4 separate regions of the Homo sapiens genome follow, and all the other regions are linked to region 3. The links are contacts of gene promoters, found by promoter capture Hi-C in blood cells and fetal thymus (Javierre and others, 2016). All regions are on one chromosome and are shown on one strand. Each heading gives the region's core, a stretch centred on a gene start or on the middle of the fragment in contact. The rest is flanking DNA. Distances are from core to core; before and after follow the strand shown. Region 1 holds the start of RXFP4 (relaxin family peptide/INSL5 receptor 4). Region 2 holds the start of ARHGEF2 (Rho/Rac guanine nucleotide exchange factor 2). Region 3 holds the start of HAX1 (HCLS1 associated protein X-1). Region 4 holds the start of GON4L (gon-4 like).

Evidence for each region. The method cuts DNA at HindIII sites, captures the fragments that hold promoters and counts their contacts. A CHiCAGO score of 5 or more calls a contact.
Region 1: a contact is called between the fragment with the promoter of RXFP4 here and the fragment with the promoter of HAX1 in region 3, in 5 of 17 cell types (total CD4 T cells, neutrophils, fetal thymus and 2 more). The highest score is 9.3, in total CD4 T cells.
Region 2: the fragment with the promoter of ARHGEF2 here is called in contact with the fragment with the promoter of HAX1 in region 3 in 1 of 17 cell types (neutrophils); the score reaches 5.2 in neutrophils.
Region 4: the fragment with the promoter of GON4L here is called in contact with the fragment with the promoter of HAX1 in region 3 in 1 of 17 cell types (neutrophils); the score reaches 5.6 in neutrophils.

The regions. Positions count from the first base shown.
Region 1 is chr1:155,939,931-155,943,442 of GRCh38, forward strand. It overlaps RXFP4 (relaxin family peptide/INSL5 receptor 4), which reads left to right and starts at 1,708. Exons shown (of 1, transcript NM_181885.3): 1 at 1,708-3,157. The coding sequence starts at 1,780. The coding sequence ends at 2,904. RefSeq lists a silencer at 1,148-1,442 and an enhancer at 1,762-2,261. The HindIII fragment of the contact is 9,136 bases long and covers 1-3,089 here.
Region 2 is chr1:155,976,852-155,980,083 of GRCh38, forward strand. ARHGEF2 (Rho/Rac guanine nucleotide exchange factor 2) reads right to left here and starts at 1,696. Exons shown (of 22, transcript NM_001162383.2): 1 at 1,514-1,696. The coding sequence starts at 1,576. It overlaps ARHGEF2-AS2 (ARHGEF2 antisense RNA 2), which reads left to right and starts at 1,788. Exons shown (of 3, transcript NR_183460.1): 1 at 1,788-1,843; 2 at 2,469-2,604. RefSeq lists enhancers at 91-170, 2,301-2,370, 2,832-3,232, 2,841-2,890 and silencers at 1,691-1,850, 1,911-1,960. The HindIII fragment of the contact is 25,844 bases long and covers 1-3,232 here.
Region 3 is chr1:154,270,906-154,274,394 of GRCh38, forward strand. HAX1 (HCLS1 associated protein X-1) reads left to right here and starts at 1,724. Exons shown (of 7, transcript NM_006118.4): 1 at 1,724-1,871; 2 at 2,431-2,693; 3 at 2,869-3,056. The coding sequence starts at 1,819. It also overlaps a transcript of UBAP2L not described here. RefSeq lists a silencer at 1,340-1,480 and an enhancer at 1,618-1,787. The HindIII fragment of the contact is 9,202 bases long and covers 1-3,489 here.
Region 4 is chr1:155,855,964-155,859,162 of GRCh38, forward strand. It overlaps GON4L (gon-4 like), which reads right to left and starts at 1,251. Exons shown (of 32, transcript NM_001282860.2): 1 at 1,184-1,251. RefSeq lists enhancers at 1,131-1,330, 1,617-2,204. The HindIII fragment of the contact is 10,340 bases long and covers 1-3,199 here.

The DNA of each region.
Region 1 (3,512 bases), core at 458-2,957, 1.7 Mb after region 3:
CGCGCCACTAATTTTGTATTTTTAGTAGAGACGGGCTTTCCCCATGTTGGTCAGGCTGGTCTTGAACTCCCGACCTCAGGTGATTCGCTCACCTCGGCCTCCCAAAGTGCTGGGATTACAGGCATGAGCCACCTCGTCTGGCCAAGCAGTTATCTTAATTGCCAGATTAGCAGGGTGATTCTGGGTGGGCAGAGGAGTAGACATGGCCCCGAGAGACAGTGATGACACAGTCACACAGGAGCAGCCATGAGGCCAGAAGGTAGCCTGTGGGGCTCACCTGACCTTGGGCTGGGCACTCCCCTTCTGCCACCCCCTTTATACTCATCCCTGGTTCGAAAGCCCCAACATGTTGGCACCCAGCCTGTATCACTCTCACCTCTGGGTTTCTCCTATGTGTTCACAAGCCCACTGCTGATTTATTGTCGCAAAGGGCCCCTCTCTTCCCTCAGCACTCCAAAGGAACTGAACATCGAACGTTATCTTAATTAGCTGGCAGAGGGCAAGAAGGGGCTGAATATATTGGAATCCTTGAGAAAGCCTTACTCTTTTACCTATCCACCTCCTGCCTTCTCTTTGTCCCCACCTCAGCTCCTTCTGCAGTAGGTAGAGATGTAGGCAATGAAAGGGGAGGGCCCAATGAAGCATTTTTTTTTTCCAGTTATGATTGAGATCATGGGGAGACAGGATGAGGTGTGGTGAGGGCGTATCTCAGGATCCTTAGCTCTGACATGGGGTTTGCAGGAGAGAGTAGGGGGACCGCTGAGCTCTGTCCACAGACTAGAGCAGGAAAGGGGGGAAAGGCGGCGATAGAGGTTAGCAGGAATGTTTAATTATCAGGAGCAGGAACAGAACTGAGGGCATGCCCAGGTCCACACAGGCCCTCATAGGCCCAGTGTTCCCAGTGGGGAGGAAACAGGAAGCTGTGACTTCCTCTCTCTTTTCCCTCCCTGCTCTTAGCCTCAAGGTCACTGCTGCTGAGATGAATTCCAACCTGTTTTAGTTGGCACTGTTCCCTGGGCATGGTAATAGCCTCTCAGTACCCTTCTGCCACAAACACCCCAAACTTCTCCTTTGAAATAATATTCATACAAATTGCTATTTCACATGTGTTCTCTCATTGCATCATGCCACTCCTGTGAAGCAGACTTACCTGAAAATTTTAAGCAAGAAAACAGGCTTAGGGGAGTAAAGTAACTCTCCCAGTCACACGGCTAGTGAGCAGCAGGTCTGGGACTCCGCAGCCTCCGCTCTTTCCTCTCTTGGACACCCATGCTGATTCCCTGCCTCTATGCCACCTCCCAGGCCCCTTGCTTTGGGCCCCAAGGGAACACTTTCTGCAGAGGAGGGAGGCCTCTGCACTGTTAGGAACAGAGGCAGCTCTAGTTTGGTTCCTGTCATCTCTGGGACAGGGAACCTCCAGCTCTCTCCCTGGGGTGGAGGCTTGGGGCTGCCCTCCATAGCGGGGTAACTCTCCCTTCTCCCCTCCCTCTCTGCCATTTAGAGCCCCTCTTACAGGCGGGCGCATGCACATATACCCTGGCATTCAGGCTGTGCCTCGCCCTGCCCCACCTACCACCAATCTTGACCAACAGGAAGGTGGTGGGTTGTCCTTTCCACACCCCTCCCTCTGAGGTGTGGGCGTGGGCCAGGGCTCACCAGAGGCCCCAGAGAAGCACTTAATTCTACAGCCTCCTTCCTAGAGCCTTCAGTGGCCTCTGCCAGTCTGGCAGACACTTGCAGACCTCTCTTCTCAGCACCACCAATCTCTGATGCCCTGCGATGCCCACACTCAATACTTCTGCCTCTCCACCCACATTCTTCTGGGCCAATGCCTCCGGAGGCAGTGTGCTGAGTGCTGATGATGCTCCGATGCCTGTCAAATTCCTAGCCCTGAGGCTCATGGTTGCCCTGGCCTATGGGCTTGTGGGGGCCATTGGCTTGCTGGGAAATTTGGCGGTGCTGTGGGTACTGAGTAACTGTGCCCGGAGAGCCCCTGGCCCACCTTCAGACACCTTCGTCTTCAACCTGGCTCTGGCGGACCTGGGACTGGCACTCACTCTCCCCTTTTGGGCAGCCGAGTCGGCACTGGACTTTCACTGGCCCTTCGGAGGTGCCCTCTGCAAGATGGTTCTGACGGCCACTGTCCTCAACGTCTATGCCAGCATCTTCCTCATCACAGCGCTGAGCGTTGCTCGCTACTGGGTGGTGGCCATGGCTGCGGGGCCAGGCACCCACCTCTCACTCTTCTGGGCCCGAATAGCCACCCTGGCAGTGTGGGCGGCGGCTGCCCTGGTGACGGTGCCCACAGCTGTCTTCGGGGTGGAGGGTGAGGTGTGTGGTGTGCGCCTTTGCCTGCTGCGTTTCCCCAGCAGGTACTGGCTGGGGGCCTACCAGCTGCAGAGGGTGGTGCTGGCTTTCATGGTGCCCTTGGGCGTCATCACCACCAGCTACCTGCTGCTGCTGGCCTTCCTGCAGCGGCGGCAACGGCGGCGGCAGGACAGCAGGGTCGTGGCCCGCTCTGTCCGCATCCTGGTGGCTTCCTTCTTCCTCTGCTGGTTTCCCAACCATGTGGTCACTCTCTGGGGTGTCCTGGTGAAGTTTGACCTGGTGCCCTGGAACAGTACTTTCTATACTATCCAGACGTATGTCTTCCCTGTCACTACTTGCTTGGCACACAGCAATAGCTGCCTCAACCCTGTGCTGTACTGTCTCCTGAGGCGGGAGCCCCGGCAGGCTCTGGCAGGCACCTTCAGGGATCTGCGGTTGAGGCTGTGGCCCCAGGGCGGAGGCTGGGTGCAACAGGTGGCCCTAAAGCAGGTAGGCAGGCGGTGGGTCGCAAGCAACCCCCGGGAGAGCCGCCCTTCTACCCTGCTCACCAACCTGGACAGAGGGACACCCGGGTGAAGGGCGCAAGCTGAACACACTCCTCTTTCTGAGATCCACCAAGTGTAGGATCCTTGAGTCCTGGGGAGAAGCTGCCCTCTCTGCCAGGCTGCAGTGCCCTCAGGGAAAAGTCTGATCTTTGATCCCCAACTCTGGGTGTGGTGAATGGGGGAGGCGGGGGCTCAGATCAGAGCTGGATGTGACAAAGCTTAAGTCTTTATTTGGAGATGGGAAAGAAGAGGATCTGAGAATAAACCTCTGGATTATCCACAAATTGTCTTGACCTTTTATCCCAGTTCCACCTCCAGTTCAGTATGGAACAAAAGGATTCGTTGCTCCATTTCTGCTTTCTGCAAGAATACCTAGGAAAACTTCCCTAAGGGTTCTAGGCTAATGAATCAGAGGTCAGTGCCCATCTCTCTCTGTACCCACCCCCCACCTCAAAACAGGGTATCCCTTGTCTTTCTCCGGTATCAAGGCCAAAAATGCCAGCTTCCCCTGTCCTCACCTTACCATCTCAGTGGTGACCACTGAAACTTGCTGCCTGCAGAGGCCTCAGCTGCAAAAGCTGTAGTTCCCTTGAAGGGATGCCAGGTGTGGGGTATTGCTGGAATTTCCAGCACCTGCCA
Region 2 (3,232 bases), core at 446-2,945, 1.7 Mb after region 3:
CCTCACCCCGGCCCTCTGTTTGTCTTAGGCCCTACTCGAATCCCCAGTTGCTTTCCAGATAGCAAAATCTAATCCCAACCCCCTAAGGAAAGTCCTTTTAAAGCTGCTTTCCCTGGCCCTCCACCCCCAACCCAGGATGGAACCTCTGTCTCTCCCAGTTTAGCATCAAGACAGGTAGCCTGGCTAGGAACTACCAGGGAGGTGGAGGGGAGGGCTTTCCATCACCCTTAAGGACTCCTAAGGGGTACTGCTCCCTTGGCTGAAGTTGGTGATCAGCATAGGCTGGCACCAGGGTAGTAGGGCACTCAGGTTGGAGAGAAGCCAGAGATTAAACCAACTCTGGGCTGGGACCTGTCCTTTCTGATAATGGGTACAGTGCGGGGGCCCCAAAGGAGCTGGGAGGTGCTGTCTGCAGGCACCACCTTCCTTTCAGCTCTGACTTATTCACCTGCAAGTCAGCTTCATCATTTCCTGGGGTCTGGGTGTGGAAAGGTCAGGGCACTTGGGAATGGGGCTGGGTACAAAGGCAGGGATAAAGGGTACTTGGAGAGGAGTGGCCAAGAGGTCATGATGGGGGAGGCGTGTGGATAATTATACACCCAGACTCATGAAATGCTAGGTGAAGGGACCCCAAGACGAGCAGATAAGAGAATGAGAGCGCTGGGGGAGGAGGAGGAAGGGCAGGGAACACAATGCATAGTGCCAGGTGTGTCAGCCTAAGGGTTTCAGGTTGGGAGAAGGAAGAGCTAGGAGGCTGGCGGGGCAGATAGGGATGGAGGCCCTATGTTCCAGGCAGAAGGGCTCAGGATGGAGGAAAGGAGCCCAGCTACACAAAGACCTCTGCTCCCTTCACCTAGAGGTGATGGTTTGGGGGAAGTAAGCCGTCCCTCGGCCGTCCCGACCCCAGCCACCCGCCCACCCAGAGGGGAGAACTGAATCACAGCTGGAAAGTCCATTTGCGAGGAGAGGAGGAGCTGACTTTTGTCTTGGAGGGGTGGTGGTGGTGGTGGGAGGAAGCCGGGAAACCACCCCCTCCCGTCCCCTCCGCCGGATGGCGGGGACAAAGGGGGAACGACCAAGCCAGCGATTGGGGAGTGATGGGGGGTCGCCACGCCAAGCCCAAGCCGGTGGGGCCCGGGGTGAGAGGAGGTGCCGGAGCTTCCACCGCCCCCACCCGCGAGACACACACCTCCCTCTTCCCGCTCCGTCCCTTACCGGAGCAACTTTCTTTCAAGCGGCCTAAAGCACTCGGTCCCGCCGGCTTGGAGGCGACCAAGCCCAGGTCCGCTCCGCTCCCTCCCGGGATCCCAGCACCGTCGCGTCTGCCGCTCCCCCCACCCCTACCCACTCGCTCGCAGTCCCCACCCACCCCGTCCCGCCGCTCGCCGATCCACCGCTCCGCCCGATTTTGGCGCCCAGAAAGCAGGCGGGGAGACAGGAGATGCACCGCGGGTGCCGGGGTTCGGGGAGCACCCGAGGACCGCGGCGAAAGGAGAGGGGTTTCCGAGCCCACCTTGCTCGCCAGCTCTCTGCTCCGGTCGATCCGCGCCCGCGTGAGGGATTCGATCCGAGACATAATCGGACGGGGGGACCAGGGAGGACGCGGCGCGGACCCCGGCGTCCTGTATTGTTGGGGGAAGGCGGGGGGAGGGGTTCGGCCCGCACGCGTTGGTCTCGGGGACAGGAAGTCTGACTCCCCTCGCCCGGCACCCAGCACCAGTTCCTCAAACCCGAGTCTCCTCCCCCGCCCAAGCTCAGGAAGGGGGTAGGCGGAGCGGAGGGAGGGCGGGGTGCCCGCGCGCAGGACGGGACGCCAGGGTTTGTGTGGGGGCAGCTCGGAGAGGTACGAGGGTCCTAGGACAGGTTTGAGAGGCCCCTCTGCCTATTTCCCCTCCAGCGCCTGGGGGCGCCCTCTAGCCCCAGAGACCCGCCTCTTAGCTCTTCTTTTCCTAAAACCCAGCCCCGCAGCCCTCGCCGGACCCAGGTTGGCCCTTTCCCCTCTGCCCTCCCCTTCTTCCCTTCTCCCCTCGCCCTCCCTTTTTCCCTCCCCTACTGCGTTACCTCAGTCTTTAAAGACCCGCAGGCAGGAGAATTCCATCCGCCCCCAGCTCTTAGAAAACCCAGGACCAGTTCCTTCCTGGCCTTCGGGGTCCCATCAAAGCAGGCCTGAGCAGACTGACCCCTTTTACGATTGGGGGCAGGGGTGGCCAGAGGGAGAGGAAATCAAAGGAGAACTAAACGCTGGATCTTCAGTACACGGGAAGGGTAGGATTCACTCCCAGAGGTCGAAGAACAGAGAGGAGAGAATTCTCCCACATGCCCCACCCTTCTGGGGCCTTCCTGACCCCACTCTGCCCTCCTCCTAGCTCCGCCTCTGCCAGCTACTTTGGGGGACTAGGTTGGGATTCTCCACTTTTACCGAAGGCCTTCCATGTGTCTAACTGCAGTTCTCTCTGTTGCAAGTTAAGCCGGAACTGAAAGACCAGAAACCAGCCTGCCCTAGTCAAAGAAAGTTAGGGCCCAACCAGCCTCTCCCCAAGAAGCAGGGTAAGGTGGGGCATTCATCTCTCTGGACCCTTTTCCCCAGCCTGAGCCAGCCTTTGGGTGAGTTTCCTGCTATTGGGAAAATTCCTCCTCCAGTCTAACTATGATCACTTACAGTGAAGTTCATTTCTGCCTCTCAGGGTCTCCCATTTCTCTGGAGAAACCAGAAGCACAGAGAGGCCTGGGACAGAGCCTTCGGTTAGCAGGGTCCTGCCTGATTCTGGCCCCAAAGGGCGTGGGAGAAGAAGGGAGGGAGGGGAGACCCAACCCAGATCCAGCAGTTCTCTGCCCTGGCTCAGCAGTGGGGCCAGGCTGCAGGTTTCAAGCCCAACTCAGCACTCTTGTAGGTGCCAATTTTAGCCTCTGCCACTATTTTTGGGCTCCACTACCTCACCACTGGCTGAGCTGGTTGGGCTCCTCACCCCCAGCACTACCCCCACACTGCCCCTCCGGCTTCCCCTCCTTCCTAGCAACTCCTTCACCTCCTTCTTCACCCATTCCCCTGTTTAGAATCCTTAAATAGCAAAGACCAGGAAAAAGGAAGAGGAAATAAACCGTGCCCAGTTCAGGCTGGATGGACATTAGAAAGCAGGAAGGACTTCCCCAGGGCCACAGCTTGTTCTTCCTGGCTTGCACCTGCCAAGTATACCTACGGGGAGGGTGTAGGAACTCCCCCAAACCAAGAGGC
Region 3 (3,489 bases), core at 474-2,973:
AGCTTGGTGAATAAGTATTACTGTACCAACTGGGCCTCCTCTAGCAGGCCCCTGAAGGCAGTGGAATAAAATGAAATCTTCGCCCTTTAAGAACTCCTGACCTTAATGTGGTAGTAGTATCTTGTCCTTGAGGGGATTTCCTTCCCCTCACCCCTAAGACTTTCACAACCTGGTGACTGGAAAGAACCACCACAAATCTTCATTTCCTCCAGAAACTGCTACATCTACAGCCGATTTCAGGCAGTAAAGGGAGAGGGATAGAGGAGATTGGGTGGAAAATGGAGAGGATCAAGAAGGAGCTGAGACCATTTCAAAGAAAAAAAATGCTTTATAGAGTTTTAAGTATGACTTAGATGGGTCCAGGCAAATAAACTAAAAAGAAGTGAAGGCAACATGTATCGTCTGGCAGAACTAAATCTTGGAGTGGGGTGAGGGATGAAAGACTACATATTGGGTACAGTGTACACTGCTCGGGTGATGGGTGCGCTAAAGTCGCAGAAATCACTAAAGAACTCATCCATGTAACCAAACACCACCTGTACCCCAAAAACGAAATAAAAAAACAAAACCTTGGGGCCCATTCCCCCTAGGAATGGACTACTGTAGTAGTGGCTTCTTGGATGCTTCTCTGTGACATAGCTATACCCAATTCTTTGAAAAAGAATCTAGAGCAAGGTCTGGCTTGGGGATGGGGTACAGGGAGAGACAGGTCTCGGAGAGGTTTTGAACAAAACACTTTTAAAAAGGAATGAGGACAGGCGCTTTGGGAGGCTGGGTTGGGCGGATCACCTTAGGTCAGGAGTTCGAGACCAGCCTGGTCAACATGGTGAAACCCCGTTTCTACAAAAAATACAAAAGTAGCCGGGCGTGGAGGCGCATGACTGTAATCCCAGCTACTCGGGAGGCTGAGACAGGAGAGAACCTGGGAGGCGAAGGTTGCAGTGAGCCGACATGGTGCCACTGCACTCCAGCCTGGGAAACATGAGAGAAAACTCTGTCTCAAAAAAAAAAAAAAAAAAAAAAAAAAAAAGATACCAAAGGGATATTTCTTTATAACCCCCAATTTGTTCCTTCTCAGGACTCAACTAGCTTCCCTTCCCTTGCTTTCTTAAAAATCCTTTGTCTTGCTGGTTGCAGAGCCTGCTTAGAAAAAAGAATTCTATATAGTTATAACAAACTCCCTAGTAGCTAGAGAGGTGGAGGAAGTTAAGTCCATGCGTCTCTTATGTCTTGATCTCTTCTCTGGGAAATTCAATACTAGAAGGAGCTTGGAAAAGCATTTTGTTCATCCCTCTAACAGCAGACATCGCCCAGGTCAGTCAAAAAGAACGCCCGAGTAAGGAGCGAGGTGGCTTCTGCTGTGAGGCTGGCCAGCCCCGCGGGTGGGGTGGTTGAGGGACGCCCTCAAGCCGGTCCATTTGTGCGGCTGGGCTGCCCTCTGGCGGCTTTATCCGGGTGCCATCCAGAGTCAAACCCTCGAAATCGCTTTTCGTACTGAGTTGGTCTGCAGAAAGAAGAACAGATTTAGGAGGAAGGCGGTCATAGGAAACTGAAAGTGCGTCACGCCCACTCCCGTCACGGAAACTGGTCTCTGAAAGGTGGGGTAAAGATAAAGCCTTTCAAATTTGAGGAAGACCTTCGGTCCCGCCTCCATTTCACGTCCGGCTTACCGTCGTTTACGACAGTGTCAGGATCGCGGGCTTGCTTTCCGGTAGCGTGGGCTGACGCCTCGCTCAATTTCTCACAGGGCTGCGCAGGTTTCCCCCGTCTGCGAATGGACCACTGGAGGGGTTCAAAGGTTCGCGTCCCAGTACGGGAATGAGCCTCTTTGATCTCTTCCGGGGCTTTTTCGGCTTTCCTGGACCTCGGAGGTGAGAGTAGGTCCGGCTCGGACAAGGGTGGGGGTCGTCTGAGGGGAGCTTGACCCCTACGTCTTATTTTTGGAAAAACATCCTCTGTCCCACTCCTTCAACTCCTGCAGAGAGGACAGAAGTCGCAACATTGAACACTCACCCCGCCACAGTAACCAAGGCGGTCATTAAGAGGAGAAACAGCAAACTAAGCCTTTCTCCAACCTGGGGTGATGCAACAGGGACCCGGGCGGGGAAGACCGTGAGGGTCTGGGGAATAAGACAGTGAGCAAGTGAGCAGGACCTTGGGAGAGAGAGGAGGGACTGGGGCACACTGAAGAAAAACTGGGGGAAGGTGTATGAAGGGAGCTGCGAGCTGAGGTCTGACTTTGATTAAAAAAAAAAAAAAAAAAAAAGAACTGTCAGCCATTGTATTAATGTTTTGATGTGGCAGCCAGTCCTCCGACCCTCTCCCTAGCTTCCCAGACCCCTTGCTCTTGTCCCACTTTGCCACCCATGAGTTGATTTAATGGCTTAAATAGTGCTGAAATATTGGTGGCCAATCTGCCTCCACTCTCAGCCACAGAGATCCCTTTTTTGGAGGGATGACTCGAGATGAAGATGATGATGAGGAAGAAGAAGAAGAAGGGGGCTCATGGGGCCGTGGGAACCCAAGGTTCCATAGTCCTCAGCACCCCCCTGAGGAATTTGGCTTCGGCTTCAGCTTCAGCCCAGGAGGAGGGATACGTTTCCACGATAACTTCGGCTTTGATGACCTAGTACGAGATTTCAATAGCATCTTCAGCGATATGGGGGCCTGGACCTTGCCTTCCCATCCTCCTGGTGTGTGGCTTTCCCTAAGGGGCAACCTGTGGTTTCTGGTGGGTTGGTGGGTGAAATAAAGAGCCTGCAGGGAGTAGCTGGGGGATGGGAAGTGTGAGAAGACTGATGATTTCAGAGAGATTAATAGAGCCCAAGTCCTTTCCCATCCCAGCAAACACCTGCCACCTTTCTGCAGAACTTCCAGGTCCTGAGTCAGAGACACCTGGTGAGAGACTACGGGAGGGACAGACACTTCGGGACTCAATGCTTAAGTATCCAGATAGTCACCAGCCCAGGATCTTTGGGGGGGTCTTGGAGAGTGATGCAAGAAGTGAATCCCCCCAACCAGCACCAGACTGGGGCTCCCAGAGGCCATTTCATAGGGTGAGTATCCCATCTGGTCCTGAAGTGAGAGCTTGTGAGAGACCACTAATAAAGTGCAAAGACTGGCTAGGTGCGGTGGCTCACGCCTGTAATCCCAGCACTTTGGGAGGCCGAGGTGGGCAGATCACCAGAGGTCAGGAGTTGGAGACCAGCCTGGTCAACATGGTGAAACCCCGTGTCTACTAAAAATACAAAAAATTAGCCGGGCATGGTGGCAGGTGCCTGTAATGCCAGCTACTCAGGAGGCTGAGGCAGGAGAATTGGTTGAACCCAGGAGGTGGAGACTCCATCTCAAAAATTGTTTGAGACCCAGCCTTGCTCTGTTGCCCAGGCTGTAGTGCCGTGGCACAATCTCAGCTCACTGCAACCTCCAATTCCCAGGTTCAAGTGATTCTCCTGCCTCAGCCTCCTGAGTAGCTGGGATTACAGTCGC
Region 4 (3,199 bases), core at 1-2,500, 1.6 Mb after region 3:
AGAGGGAGACTCTGTCAAAAAAAAAAAAAAAAAAAAAAAAAAAAGGCATCTTATTACCCAGGAAAACTTTACTGTCATAAATAGATCCAATAATAGAATAAGCCGCCTTGTGTTAGATCACTGGCAATGTTCAAGCGAAGCCTGAATGTCCACTTATCAGAGTACTAGATGAAAGCCTGAACTAGAGAACTGAAAAATAAAAGTTATTTGTAACTCTAAGCGTCTAAGGTTAGATTTCTCTTTCTTCTTTTCTTTCTTTCTCTCTCTCTCTCTTTCTTTCCAGAGACAAGGTCTCGCTCTGTTGCCCAGACCGGAGTGCAGTGGCAAGATCCTAGTTCACTGCAGCCTCAGACTCCTGGGCTCCAGTGACCCTCTGGCCTCGGCCTCCCGAGTAGCTAGGACTACAAGGCACTTGCCACCACCCTCAACGACTTTTTTTCTTTTTTTTTTTTTGTAGAGACGGGGTCTCGATTTGTTACCCAGGCTGGTCTCAAACTCCTGGCCTCAAGCGATCCTCCCGCCCCAGCCTCCCAAAGTGCTAGGATTAGAGGCGTGAGCCACCGCGCCCGACCTACAGTTAGTTTTAAACCTCCCTTCTGTTTCTCCAAGACATTAGGGGAGATTCTCCATCCCCTCAATCAACTGATGTAATTAAAACTCAGTAACTAAAGCTCAATAAAACATGAAGATTTCGTTGATTCCTGTGAGAGATGGTGGTGACCTTATAAGAAATAGAATGGGAGTAGCCAGGGCAGCTCTTTTATTTCACAGATAATTACTGAGATCAAAAAAAGGGGAAAAAAAGAAAAAGAAAGAAAGAAAAAGAAGGAAAGAAAGACAGCTACTTCAGCTCCAGGCACCTCAAACACAGCAGTAGCTCGACAGAATCCACTTTTTTGGGAACCCAAGTCGGACCAGCAGGGTGAATGAATGCCAATGTGGAGGCAGCCCCGGCACGGCCCTCTCCTAGGAAAACATTTTCAAAAGGGGTCCTAACCGCGCTTCCACCTCGGTGCCCAGGGCTGGCTCCAGTCCCCATTCCCAACTAGACACTGGACTTCACGCCCTTAACTTCCGCCACGCACCCAGCGCCCACCCTCAGACCCGACCTTCTCAACCTGGACATCGTTCGTCCAGGTGTCCCAGCTCCCACCTGCCTCTTCCCACCCCACCACACACAAACCTGTACCCTCACCAGCCGGCCTGATTCCACGGAAACGGCTTTGGCACCACCGGAAGTCAGCCAACAACAGCGAATTGCGTGCGCGTCCCCGAGCCTCGGAGCGCCGCGCCGCAGTGCATCAAGGAGCATGCGCCTAACACTATGCGCCATCCCATTTTAGGGCAGAGTGAAGCCACAACGTTAGTGCGTCAGTTATTGGCAAAAAAATTTAAAGGCACTACTTAGCTTTCTCTGCCCATGGAGTTATCCTACTCAAAACTGAGGTTAAGATTCAGTGGTTTAGATTAACAGCTAATTTGGGGGCCAGGCGCGGTGGCTCACGCCTGTAATCCCGGCACCTTGGGAGACGGAGGCGGGCGGATTACCTGAGGTCGGGAGTTCGAGATCACCCTGGCTAACATGGTGAAACCCCGTCTCTACTAAATATACAAAATTAGCTGGGCGTGGTGGCGCACGCCTGTAATCCCAGCTACTCCGGAGGCTGAGGCAGGAGAATCGCTTGAACCCGGGAGACGGAGGTGGCAGTGAGCCGGCATCGTGCCACTGCACTCCAACCTGAGCGACAGTGAGACTCTGTATCAAAAAAAAAAAAAGATTAACAACTAATTTTTCTCACTACGAGTCACCTGGAACACAGGACCAAGGGACTGAAGAAGTCATAAAATGCCAGAAAAAGAAGTCTCTAAATTACAAATAGTGCAGGCTCCTGATTAAAACTAAGGCACTCTTGGACTCAGGCTATAGTAATTATTCATATATGTACAATATTCTGCATTTTACAAAATGCTCTCACATTTTCTTAGGTGACTTGGTCTCCACAATAGACTGTAAGATTATTATATCATATTCCAGTTTGCACAGGACAAAGTTCTGGCTCATCTGAGTAGGTGATTTCACAACGGTACACAGACAGCTATCAAGGAGAATCAGGTATTAAGTCTCCTAACTCTAGCTAATAATGCATTGACCCAGTGTCCAGGAGGCTGCCTGGGGTGTAACAGATGTTCAATAATTCAATACGTGCTTTTTGAATGAGCGAATGAATGAATGACTTCTAAAATGATGTTATTTCCACTTTTCTAGAAAAACAATGTCTGGAATCCACGGAGATTAAAAAAATAATAAAAAACAGAATGTCAAAAGGTGGAAAAATACTTTCAACCCCCTCATTTTACAGGTAAACCACCAACACAAATTTATACATTTGAACTAATCCTATCTGTAAACAGAATCCAACGGATGAAATTATCCACAGCCAAAATGAAGGTTGAAATTTATGCAAACATGGCAGTAGTCTGACTAACCTGAATCACACCAACTCTCCCAAATACCAAGGAAGACTCCAGAAGCTCGGAGTTTCATGTGTGTTGTTCTTTGACCTACAGAATACACAGATCTTTCGGTTTGGCCTCTCTCATACGAAACCCTAAGCACTTGAGGTTCATGAAAAAAATTCAACACTGATTAACTTTGGCACTTTTCATTAGTTGTTTTTTTTTTTTTTTTTAAACAGCTTTGCATACCACAATATCCATCTGTTTTACGTGTACAACCAAATTTTTTTTTTTTTTTTTTTTTCAGACGGAGTCTTGTTCTGTTGCCCAGGCTGGAGTGCAGTGGCGCGATCTCGGTTCACTGCAACCTCCACCTCCTGGGCTCAAGCGATCCTCGTGTCTCAGCCTCCCAAGTAGCGTGTGCCACCACGCCCGGCTAATCTTTGTATTTTTAGTAGAGATGGGGGTTTCACCATGCTGGCCAGGCTGGTCTCGAACTCCTGACCTCAAGTGATCTGCCCGCCTTGGCCTCCCAAAGGTTTGGGATTACAGGCATGAGCCACCGTGCCCGGCTGTTTTTTTAAAATTAGTAAATGTTCAGAGTTGTGCAACCATCCCCAGGTTTGGTCTTTCATCAGAGTTTCTGAGGTTTAAGACAGTTTCCATCCACTGTGAAATATAAGCCAAAAAAAAAAGTTCTGTAATAACCTTTAGCGGTCTCAGAAATGCATAATGATGGCAG